Regions from separate parts of the Homo sapiens genome. Here region 2 is linked to region 1. The links are contacts of gene promoters, found by promoter capture Hi-C in human tissues and cell types (Jung and others, 2019). All regions are on one chromosome and are shown on one strand. The core of a region is centred on a gene start or on the middle of the fragment in contact, and the rest is flanking DNA. Distances in the headings are between cores, read along the strand shown. Region 1 holds the start of KRTAP27-1 (keratin associated protein 27-1). Region 2 overlaps LOC105372772 (a long non-coding RNA gene).

What was found. The method cuts DNA at HindIII sites, captures the fragments that hold promoters and counts their contacts. A contact is called where the count stands out against the background at its distance.
Region 2: a contact is called between a fragment that was not itself captured here and the fragment with the promoter of KRTAP27-1 in region 1, in 5 of the 25 tissues and cell types used here (H1 embryonic stem cells, liver, mesendoderm cells and 2 more).

The regions. Positions count from the first base shown.
Region 1 is chr21:30,332,832-30,338,943 of GRCh38, forward strand. It overlaps KRTAP27-1 (keratin associated protein 27-1), which reads right to left and starts at 4,863. Exons shown (of 1, transcript NM_001077711.1): 1 at 4,182-4,863. The coding sequence starts at 4,837. The coding sequence ends at 4,214. The HindIII fragment of the contact is 14,979 bases long and covers 1-6,112 here.
Region 2 is chr21:30,466,350-30,473,011 of GRCh38, forward strand. All of the region lies in intron 3 of LOC105372772 (a long non-coding RNA gene), which reads right to left. Among named protein-coding and RNA genes, the nearest start is that of KRTAP19-1, 11 kb to the right of the region's middle. The HindIII fragment of the contact is 3,591 bases long and covers 1,640-5,230 here.

The sequences.
Region 1 (6,112 bases), core at 3,613-6,112:
AGGCAGGAAGAAGTCCCTTGGTCTATGAAGAATGCTCTGTAGCATGCATATACCCACCGGTATGTTTTGACATTGCTTAAAAATGAGTCCTGCATAGAATATCCTGGTTATGTCCCATACTGCTTACATTCTTTTCACATGGAATGAAATAATTTTCTTGGTCTCTGCCCTGGATTCAAATGCATTATAGACAATCATAAAAACAAACTGAAATTGAGGCCCAAGAGAAAAATATCAGACGAAGTATCAAATGATACCTAGCATATATTGTGCTCTTATTATGTGCCAAACAGTCCACTAAGCATTTAATTGGAATCATGCCATTTAGTTGTCATAATCATCCAATGACTTTAATATTATTATCTCCATTTTACAATAATGGAACCAAGTCTCAGAAATGTTAATTTGGGCCAGGTGCAGTGGCTCACGCCTGTAATCCCAGCATTTTTGAAGGCTGAGGCAGGTGGATCACTTGATGTCAGGAGTTTGAGACCAGCCTGCCCAGCATGATGAAACCCCATCTCTACAAGAAGTACAAATATTAGCCAGGTGTTGTGGCATGCACCTGTAATTCCAGCTACTTGGGAGGCTGAGGCATGAGAATCGCTTGAACCCGGGAGACAGAGTTTGCAGGGAGCTAACATTGCACTACTGCCCTCCAGCCTGGGCAGCAAAGTGAGACACTGACAAAAAAAAAAAAAAAAAAGAAAAAGAAAAAAAGAATGTTAATTCATCCCAGAGCACATAGCTTTTAATACACAGAATTTGGAATTGAGTAAGATCTAGTCATACTATAAGATTCATGTCCTTTTCCTTACACTAAATTTTCTACCAAGGTTTATATAATTATGGCATTCCATATTCCAATATCAAAAGTCTTTTTGTACCTGAGTCCACATAATTTCTTTCTATGAGGAGCTCTAATATGCTCCATGTTGAGTTAGATTAAATACTGGCTCCTTCTTCAGCTAGCTTCTCTTTCTAGCAGTGGTCAAGCTCAGCCTGGAAAGCTAATGTCTAGAATGATGAACAGAGTAGATGGGAAAGTGAAACTTAACATCACGTCCCTCTTTCCTGGCATTCCCCTGCTCCACAACACATACCACACATAGCCCGTTTTCGCCAAAGTCCTGTTTTCTCAGCAAGCTACACCCAGTAAAATAATATATACTTGGAAGGCACATGGAATGGGTAGGTTTTCCCTCTTGTCTTTAGAAACAGTGGTCCAAATGAATTGAGCTTTTTCTGGGCAACCCAGTTGGCATTGCAATAGTAAAAATCCTTATTGTGAATGAACTTGATCTATGTTCACATGATTGGCTGTGACTAGAATGCTGAGAAGCTGCCACGAGATAAATTCTGTCTTTACTGTTGCCAATGCTGTGTTACTGCCATCAGTGCTGTGGACAGAAGCTTTATGTCAATGTTGTTTGCTTCAGGGATGTTCTGCTATTGAGGCTGCCAAAGGCTCTGAGTACTATTGATGGTATTGAATAGTGTTTGGCCTCTCTCAGACTTCCGTCAATCCTATCCCTCTACAGAGCACCTGTGTATGTGGTGGTTTACAGATTTTAGGCTTAAGTCTTCCTCTTTGAGATGGCCTGTGTCTATCCCACTGTATTATTCAGGGCTACATAGAGAAACAGAACCAATAAAATAGATAGATAGATGATAGATGATAGATGATAGATAGATAGATAGATAGATAGATAGATAGATAGATAGACAGACTATATATAATATATATTTATCTCACTGTATATATGTGTGTGTATATATATGCATGTGTGTGTGTGTGTGTGTGTGTGTGTGTGTGTGTGTGTATGAAGAGAGAGAGAGAGTGAGTGATTTATCACGAAGGATTGGCTCACACAATTATGGAGGCTAAGAAATCTCATGATGTGTCACCTGCAACCTGGAAACTCAAGGAAACCAGTGATATAATTCCAGTCCAAATGTGAAGATCTGAGAACCAGGGGAGCCAATGGTATAAATCCAGTCCAAGGGCAGGAGAAACCCAATGTCTCTGCTCAAGTAGGCTTGCAGGAAACATAAACGGGCACATTTCTCCTTCCCCGACCATTTGTTTTATTTAGGCCCTCAATGGACTGAACGATTCCCATCCACATTGGAGAGGGCCATCTACTGAGCACACTGATTTAAATGCTTATCTCCCTTGAACACTCTCACAGACACACTCAGAAATAATGCTTAATCTGGGCAGCCCTTGGCTCAATCATGTTGATACATAGAATTACCATGGCACCCACCCTCAGAACTAACTGGTAAATTATCAGTAGCATTAGGTTTGCCATAGATTCAGAGATACTTGCCAATTTACTTCAACTAGACAGCGTTTAAGTTTCTTAATTTTCTCCCTTAGTAGATGATGCTGCCTGCATCTTCCAAAATACAAAACAGCTAATCTCTCTTTTGTTGGATGACTAGCTTTCCTAATCTCTCATGGATTTCTGGGTTTATTTACAAATCCCCACTACCTCCCCCATACCAAGTCTCTGAGCTAGCTGAGTTGCTAAATATGCTATATACATGGTAATTTTTTAAGCCTTACACTTTCAATTTATTAACTTATTAAGGCTCACAGTAGCCCTATTATTATCCTTCACTTTTGAAGTTGAAGAAACTGAGGTGGTTAAATAACTTGCACACAGTCACACAGTTGGAACTTAAACAGCCATCACTAAGCAAAGCTAAGATTCCAGCTCAAGGAAATCCATATTCAGAGTTCATGCTCTCAACCACTACCTTATTTTGCCCTGAAAAAATGTGAGATCCAAGGCCAGGCATGGTGGCTCACGCCTGTAATCCCAGCACTTTGGGAGGCCGAGGCAGGCGGATCACGAGGTCAGGAGATTGAGACCATCCTGGCTAATGTGGTGAAACCCGTTTCTACTACAAATACAAAAAATTAGCCGGGCATGGTGGCAGGCACCTGTAGTCCCAGCTACTCGGGAGTCTGAGGCAGGAGAATGGCGTGAACCCAGGAAGCAGAGCTTGCAGTGAGCCGAGATTGCGCCACTGCACTCCAGCCTGGGTGACATAGCGAGACTCCATCTCAAAAAAAAAAAAAAAAATTGAAAGATCAATTTAAGAACACACCAAAAGTTTCAGAATAGCTAAGCTACCTAAATAAAATTAATCAATTTCAAACATCTGACTCTATGGTCTTATGATGTTCATATGAGTATATTTTCCATCTTCTGTTGACTACCACCATGAGTTATTCTTTTCTGGTTCACACTATAAAAATTATAACAAGAGGATATGTTCTCTTTTCTTCTAAATATTTATACTATTTTCATTAGGTAACAAACGAAGAAACAAAAAGCCTGTAACATAACACCTGCAAAAGGATTGAATAAAAATAATAGTGTGACAAGTCCAAATTTTGCTTCCAAAGAAAGCAAATTTATTTAATACAAAGAATATTTTCCAAACTCAAAAAATACTTAAGAAATAATGAAAACAGGAAAAAAACAAACAACCAAAAAAACAACGGGAACGAAATGAAGTGAAGATTCTAAACTTCAATTCATTCTATTTAAAGGCTTCTGGTTGCTACGTGGTTATAAAGCCCATGGAGGTGAAATTCAAAATTACCTTGCTCTATTCGAACAATAGACTTAATCTTCTAGTTAATTTGAGAATGTTGTGATTCAATGGCTAAAATAACAGATGGCCAGTGAGTAGGCCTGGATTTTAGTTGTGGTTCTGATGTTATTAACTACTTGGGCAACCTCTGATAGAGTTGAACCTATCGTAATTCACAGGACTAGGTAGGCTTTTAGGTTTGGTTCCAATATTTTATGAATTTCTGAGACTAGTAGCACATTACTTAATAAACCAGATCCAATGCTAAGTATTTCCAAAGAAAACAACTTGCAGTTAAAGTGTGATGTTTCCTTTAAGTATTCATGTTATTTCCTGGCTACAGCTCTTATTGCTTAATAACAAATCGTATCCTACTGCTCTAAAATAGCTAGCATGCTTTCCAACCCCAGATTACCACTAGACATACCCAAAAGAAAAACAAGAAAAAAAATCTTGTCTTTGGAGACAGTAGTAAAATAAGACATGTTCATTTACTAACAAACACACACAACATTTTTTATTTAAAGAAATACAAAATATCTAAGTATCTCAAAAATAAATTCATCCAAATGAGAATATAAGCCATCTCCCCTACAGATCTTCACTTACTAGGCAATTGAGAACCACCAGTAACACAGCAAGTTGGTTCAACTCCTGGAGAAGATTCCAGGAGTTGTGGCTCAGGTGCAACATTGACCAGAGGTCTACAGGAACTGGATTCAGGGTTCTGAGACTGACACTGACATTGGCTAGATGCACGTTCCAGAGTTTCGAAATTTTTAGACTTAGAAGTCTTGGGTGGGCAACTGTTTCCCTTGAGGCTTGCAGGTTGGCAGCTCTGGGCTACAAAACCCATCTGCTGAGTGCTTTCTGATTGGCAAGGCTGAGAAACACAAGCCAGCCCTGCTGAAGAACTTTCTGATTGGCACGCTGTCCTTTCGCAGGGCCTGGAATTGGAGTAAGTAGTTTGGACAACTCCGGGGAAGCAGTTACTTTGCACACAGCTATCGTCTGTGAATAAGTCCTGTTCACAATTGGTCATTTGGCAGCTGGTGGTTTCATTGCAGGTTTCTTGAAAGTTGTCCAGGAAACAGGTTCTGCTATGGAAGCTGCTGGGCAAACACAATCTGTCTTCAAAGGTTATAGGATTAGTGCCATGTGTGATGGCAGAGAGTGGTGGGGCATTGTGGAAGCTCCTGAGTGAATGGCAGTGGCTATGAGGCATATTGCTAAAAATCCTTAAAGATGGTCATAAGGACTCAACATGCTGAGTTTGAAAATTAAATTCTTTGGTGCGGCGATTATATACTCAGAAACCTGGGTGTTGGCTTCTCAAGACTTCTTTGCAACTCATTGCTTAAACTAATTTGAAGGATAACATCTCATTACCACTTTGGTTATATATGCAGATGATGTCTTATTAACAAAGATGTAAGTCCATTTTGAATCTTCAAAATGGCTTTTATGTTAGCTCCAAAGATGACTCATTCAAGGTGGGGTTGGTCAAATAAGAGTCTAAACCTGTCCAACCAAGCTAACATTTTTTTTTTTTTTTGCCACCATGACTCTGCACATTGGTAAGTGGACAATGAGAAATGCATGAGGCAGTGGCCAACTGAATACTGATTAACATTTAGCACTGGTTTTGAGAGCTGCCAATGTAGCAGAATGTGGTAATTTGATGTTCAAGACATTTAAAGTTAGAATTGGATCCAGGTTGAGCCCAATCTCATTCCACTCAGATATTGTTCTCTCCAGTGGACCAGAATGTGAGAGGACTTTGTGATCACATTCCTTCTCAGTGTTCATGCAAAGTACTGAGTGTGGCCATTGCCCAATAAATACTTGTCTTTTGCCTAACATTTCGTTTCCCTAATCTCCTTGAAAGCCAAGTTTAAATGCGTCCTTTTCCTGAAGTCTTCCCCAATCTTCCCATTTAGGAGTTATTTCTTCCTTTTCTGAATTACTAATGGATTTAATTCCTTTTTTCTATACTTGACAAAGTGGTGTGTTTACTTGTGTTTGTGCTTCTCAAAGGTTGATTATTTTCCTTTATAATGAACCTTCTTCAGATATTTTTCATCTTTATTCTGTGCTTTTTTTATTGACTGCAGACAGATGATCAGTTCCTATGTTTATCGCATTAGGACACCGTTCTTAGCATAGTTTCATACTCATGGCACAGAGCCAACCAGCACAATTTCTATAACATATTCTATAATATATTTGGCTCAGCTAATGACAATAAAATAGAAGTATAGTCTTAGTGCACTAACTAGACTCCCTTTCTAAGGTCTGAAGAAGCCCAAGAACATTCAGCAATTCTCAGTAATTCTTATGCAAACACTTCCTTGAAAGACTGAGGATATTATAAATTTAAAAGGGCACATCTGAATACTTTCAGCTTTATAGGCTGCACACTCATCTTGTATACAATACCTTTGTAACACACGCAAGTCATTTATAATTTTGAATAACCACACTTGTATGTTTAAAGATC
Region 2 (6,662 bases), core at 2,185-4,684, 130 kb after region 1:
AATTAGACAAATAAAAGAAAGTTGGGGAGTCTAAGGGTAATCCTGACAACTAGTATCTCATGAAAAAAAGAGACAAGAAACTCAAGGAGTTTCATGAAGTGGAAAGGTTTTTGTGCTTCTTCCATATACATTGTGTGTGTGTGTGTGTGTGTGTGTGTGTGTGTGTGTGTTTTCAGATACATATAAATATAATACAAATGGAATATTCAGTGTCGAATTGCATGTTTAAATGGTGGACTTTTTACGACATTCAAATAAATTTGTCCCGGTTGATTAGATTTGAGGCCCACTAGAATAACTAATTACTAAGCATCATAATTCAAGTTCATCATAAAGCATATGTTCACTTGTTTTACAGTAAATATCAATTCATGAAAGGAAGAAAAGTCTTAAAAATAAAAATCAGTTAACCCAAGTTATTTCAAGTCATAAATTTAAATACCTACTAGATTCTTCAGTGAACGCTGAAGAGCAGTTATTTTTATGGTTTTGTACCTTATGTAAACCTGGCGACATATATTTGACTTGAAACGTGTAGCACTTTTTAACAGATCTCATAAGCTACCTATTAGATAACCAGATGCATAATAAGACAGGCAAGCAGCATTATACACAATTCTCTTAAGACAAAATTAAAAATGCAAAAAAACCACATACATTATATAACAATAAGAATTATAAATAAGAATATAATAAGTACGTAATAAGTATGCTTAGCCCTTTTTCCTAAAACAAGAGGACTTACATTTTTAAAAGGTATTTGGCTTTATTTTCTAAGTGAAATTTGAATGTTCAAAAAGAAGTTCTGCTCAATAGTAATGGCAGAAATAAGATCATAGAATGTAACCTTGGGTGTAAAACTTGTGTAACACTTATATTTTACAGATGGGGAGAGCAAGCTTGATGACCTATAGAAACTTATACCTGCCACGAGCATCACCTGTAAATGATTACGATGTACTATACCACTCTTTGGAGTAAAAGTTGAAAAAAATCATCCACTGATAAAGTCACTTATAAAGTCACCATAGATTATTGACTGGTGTTTCCAAAAGGAAAATGAGATCGGTTTTTGTTAGAAGATTATTGTATCAGCTACATCATTTAAATTCACTTTGAAAGATACCCAGCCATTATAATCAGGTGACTATGGGGACAGCATATATTATTACTAAAAGCAAGAAATCATTCTTCATTTAGAAGGCCCAATCAACACCAAAGAAGCATGATTCTCACAAATTATTGCCTATTGAAACAATAATAAATAGATTCAAAGGAAACAATACAGAGGGAAAAATAATGCCTCACATGGTCATTATGAAAGTTACAAATTGAATACTGGAGTGAAGGTCAAGTAAATGTTAAAAAGTTAGTGCACAAACACAATCACCATGCTAAGTGAGCTGCAGGTAAAACTGACTTTCTAATTTGGAGGATTAGTACAATCAAAAGGGTCAAATAAGTTGTACATGATGCCATAATCTTGATGTTCATCGCTTAAATCTTTATTGAGATTAGGTTGCCATTTCTTTCAAGTCTTTTGTCATTAATATGGATTTTTTTTTGCCAAAGACTGAACCTTTTATAAAGCAAGAAAAGTATTAAAGAAAATTAATAAATAAATGAGTATTTCTCTACATCGTATAAAATCAATTTGTTTGATCATTTGCTTGGATTAATTTATTTTCAATGATACAGACTTAGTTTTAAAATAGCATTCCATGCTGCTCCTGAGTATTAGATACACATTTGCTTTACTTGTTTTAAATATTATGGTCTTTTAATATTTTCTACCACTAAGAATAAGAAAAAAAAAACTGTCCATACCAACAAAATACTCCCATAAAGAACCTGACTATGATATGCTCCTCAAATGAAAAAAATCCATCAGAAGAATAATGTCCTTTCAATAACTCCGTCACATCACATCTCACTCATTGAAAGCACCTTGTGAGTTTATTTCTTCCTTCCCATGGAAACCTCCTTTCACGTGGTATCTCTGAGGTCGAAATTCAGCAGCCTGGAAGACTCAATATGATGTGAAAGGTATCCAAGTTGAGATTTATTCTACAACAATTAAATACCAAACTAGTCATATTCCAAAATAGTTTGAGGAAAAAAATGTCATACTTTAAATATCCTGGCTCACAAACGATCAACACAGGTCCCAGGGATGGCACAAAGATGGTTCTAATTCAATGAATGCGGAATGTTAGTATCTTCTTAATGGATGTTGATCTGGTTACAGGGAATATGCACCTTACATGACCACAGAGAGGCCAGAATTTTATTTTTATCCTGTTTGCCAAGGTCTTTATCTCTACAGCCAAAATGAGAATGGTGATTTAAACAATTGAAGTCACAGTACTCACCCCAAAGCTTTTGTGGAAGCCTAGATTGTCAGTGACTGCAGCTATTAGGGAAATGAATTCAGCTGGGTAGAAAAAGCCACATGACTTGAGTTCAAATGTCACTCTCTGTTCTCTGTACAATAAAATTGTAAACCCTTAGAAGTGGGGCTGGTAAAGCCTACAGGCTTTACATCTCAAATAGCACATGAGCCCCTCGAACCCTTTAATATTCCCTTGATTCCAGGAAGGGAGGGCCTCTTGAATATTAACATGTTTGAATTTAGTATTCCTTTAATCAACTTGTGCCTGTAAGAGGTAATGTTTCCATTCTCAAAGCCTTGGCTTTTATCTGACCCCAACTGAGATCCCCATAAATTTACTCCATGACATGAGGTAATCCCTCAACTGTATTTCAAAAGATTGTTTTGCTTCACTAATTATACATGATGGCTTCTGACATTCTCTGTAAGAAGATATTTATGTAAACATCATGGTCTGTCCACCATTATTCAAAACCAACTTCTGTTAAAGGGTTAACCACTTAAGCTGAGTCCCTGGGATAGACACATCTCTTAACCTGGCAATAATAATCTTAAGAATAGTAAGTGTTTATGAATACTTATTATACGCCAGGAACTTTAGATGTTTTGATTCACTTAACACGATCCCCTATGAGGTAAGTATTGTTATTACCCTCATTTTATAGATGGCCTAGAGAGCTGAAGTAATGGAATGCCCGACGTCATCATGGCTATTAAGTAAGTGTGTGTGTTGAATCTGAATTTAGGTAAGCTGATTTCAGAGGCTATGCTTTTCCACTTCACTGAATTGCTGATTTATAGAGCTCGCCAGAAGGGGAAAAAGCAGACACCTCTTGATGGTGTTTTCTACAACACACTTAGATCACCTAAAGGCTTGGGGCATAATTTTTGTAGACATGGTTTATCTTTGTTGACTTCTTATCCATGTCCCTTTGATCTCCACCCTTTGCCCCTGCCACATCCATCCTGAAGAGGTCAGTCACTACGTGGCCTCTCTTGGGGGCTAGGTTTTATTACTGAGTCACTCCATCCATGTGAGTTTCTTCCCTTGACTCTGCATCTCTGGTTCCATGTGTGTTCCTCTGCTTTCTCCTTTTCCTCTCCCTTTTCCCTCCCAATATGTGGGTGGAAAGTATTCCAGAAGTAAATGGTAATAATGTACAGGATGGTTCTTTTCCCAAACCCTCAGGAAATGAATTTACAATTCTCACCATGACCACAAGTCTTAACCCTATGTGCTAGGCAAAGGTTTAATTCAGAGAATTTTAGTCACTTTAGAAAACTGGATAAATTGTTTGGGAGGTATAGTTAAAAAATAAATTAGATTTCAGTAGCACTCTTGTTACTTAACTAAGAGTGTGCTTATTTATATTCTGGGCTGAATCTGGTATGGAAGAAAATATAGACATTTGCTCTAACTTGGGCTCTGTGTCATTGACATTTATGACTTGTTTTTGTGAGGCTACTCAGTATCTAAGACTTGTTTCTGTTTAGGAGGAGACAGTACTGTGGCTCCCAATGCAGACCTTAAAGAGGACTAGATAATTCCTTTCATTGCTCCCAGTAGCGATGTCTTAGGCATTTGAATTAAGCTTGGCTAATCAACTGTCTCAACTGGTCTTGGATTTTTAGCAAAGTGACACAAAGACAAAAAACGGTATTCAGAATGTATCTAGAGCAGAGGTATCCAGAAGCAGAAAAAAATGGCAAGAGGAATGTCAGTAGTAGCAGTGCCCCACTCTAGTGGTGGCTAAAAAGAAAAATGGCAGTAATGACAAAAATAATATCCTAACAAGACTATTGCTGTGTCATTGATTTGGGTGCTATATTAGCTATATTGACAACCCTGGGTCGCATCCCACTTCTCAACCCAGTCTCCCAGATTTCCCACAGTTCGTCAAACTACCCATAGTCTCAGTAAAGTTTTTGCATGCTTATTAAATAGTCTGCCTGGTAGACAGGGCTTGTGTTTCAGTCTCTTCATACAGTACAGACTGTTGACATAAAAGTTCTAATAAATTACTGTACTTATATTTTCCATTTACTCTTTGCCTAGGAAGTAATCCAGGTGTTTCATATGAGCTGTTTAAATCTTTTGAGCAAACTATTTCCCTTATTATTTTAACATGAAAATAGAGCATATAAGGCATACAATTTAAAATGGGAACATATCAAGCTTAATAGCCATCTTGCATTGTAACCATGACTGATATAATAAAGTAATACATTTAGCTTTATGAATCTGTAATGATTTTCAATTCAAATGCATTAAAGTTGAGTAAATCTAGATTGCAAAGAAGAAGCTCATTATTGAGCAGGAGAGAAAGATAAGCAAACATCACATTATATGATAAAAGTGGTTGTGAGAAAAGAAAACGTGAAAAGAATACAGTTGAGGATAGGGTGTTTGTTCATTTTTCATGAACTATGATGTCAGAGTAGTTTTTGCACATTAAGACTTGCAAGATGAAAAGGTATTATGATGGGATGAAATAGAGACACCAGGTATTATAAAAGAATAAGTGCATTATAGTAATAATAATCATTATTATTATGGATATTGTCTACCATTTATTCTGCCTGGCCATTCTTTTGTACTTTGCAAATAATAGATCGTTTAGTCCTCACCACATTACAGGGAAAACAATGAGATTATTTTCAACTTGCGGATAACAAAAATGAGATTTAATGAGATAAAATAAATTTCCCAAGTTCAGAGAATTAATCCTCAGTCAAGTTAGTATTGGAATCCAAGCAGTTTGACTTGAACTTTGAGTTTCTAACTAGTAAGAATGGCACCTTAAGATGTAAGCAAAATAAAATTTGAGTTAGGAAAATCCTTAGTAGAGACTACTGTGATAAGAGATGAAAAAACATAAAATAAGAAAGAAGAATTGGTGATGCAGACAGTGTGCCATCTTTGAGAAAAATATAAATGTCAAGGTTAAGGGGAATTAGTAGCCAATAAGTGAGGAGAGGGACATAAATGGATAATTATTTTCACAAAAGTTTAATTTTGCAGCACTTGGTGGATCAAAATGCTGGAAAGGGGTTTGTAGAGAAGCAAAAAGGGTGCATGTGTGGGAAGAAGAATCTATTGGTTAGAATAAGTTTAAGCTCAGCTGTCTATGGAGACATGCATTTGGAAACATTCTTCTGGTAGATAAATATCAGAAGAAAGACCGGTTTGGGAGAGATGCCATATATGGCAAATAAAAATACAGGGTGCCCAGTTAAACTTGAGTTCTGAATAAATAATATTTTGTTTAGCATAAGCACGCTCTATATAATATTTTAGACATACCAAAAATGTTTCTATTACTTATCTGAAATTCTAACTTCATAATTTGTTCATTATTGTGTCTGGCATTCCTATAGACTGGGAATGTAGATTCGAGCACCACAACTTGCAGAGAAGTTGTCAACTACTGCTTAGAGTAAAGGAGGTTAGCTTTAAATAAACAAAGGCTAGACAGTGGGTTCTCTGGTAGAATACAAAGCTTTATCTTTTCCCTCTCATCTACTCTCTTTGCGTTATAACTTTGAAATGTTCTTTCACTCTGATTCCTGGCACAGTCATATAACATGGTGTTACCAGCCAAAAGGCAGAATTGATGATGTTCTGGTTCTGAGCATGAAAGTTCTTGCAAGAATCTAGTTTGCTCTCATACTCTTGCCATCTTCATGAGAACACAGTAAGTAGATCTAGCCTAATTTTAGAGTGAGAGATTGATGGAGCAAAGCCAATTCCCACTTTTACCCCAGTCAACAGTAAGTCAAACCCCAGTCATGTGAGCAAACAGCAAGGCTATCTTACTTCCCCCAGCCGTTGGATGGTTGAGCATGAACCATCTTATTATACAGCTTATCGTTGTATGTAACACAGCAGTATGATGGCAATAGAAAATGGAAACAAAGTCAATTATAATAGTGTCAAAATAAAAGTAGCAATAACTAATATATATTGATTGCAGACTATATGACAAGCTATGCTTTGAGGTTTTGTATGCGTTACTCATTTAATCCTCACAAGGATCCTATGAAATTGTTGCTATTGTTACCCCAGTTTTACAGATGAGAACGCTGAAATCCAATGGGTTTAAGTAACTTTTCCAAGGTCACCTTGGAAAGTAACAGAGCTGACAGTCTGACTTAGGTGAATTTGCCTTCAGAAAGTTCATGCCTAACCACCTAGTGACACTGCATCTCAACAAAACTTTGAGGATGACACTGGATTTGCCAATAAAGAAGTTGTTTGGAACATTTACTG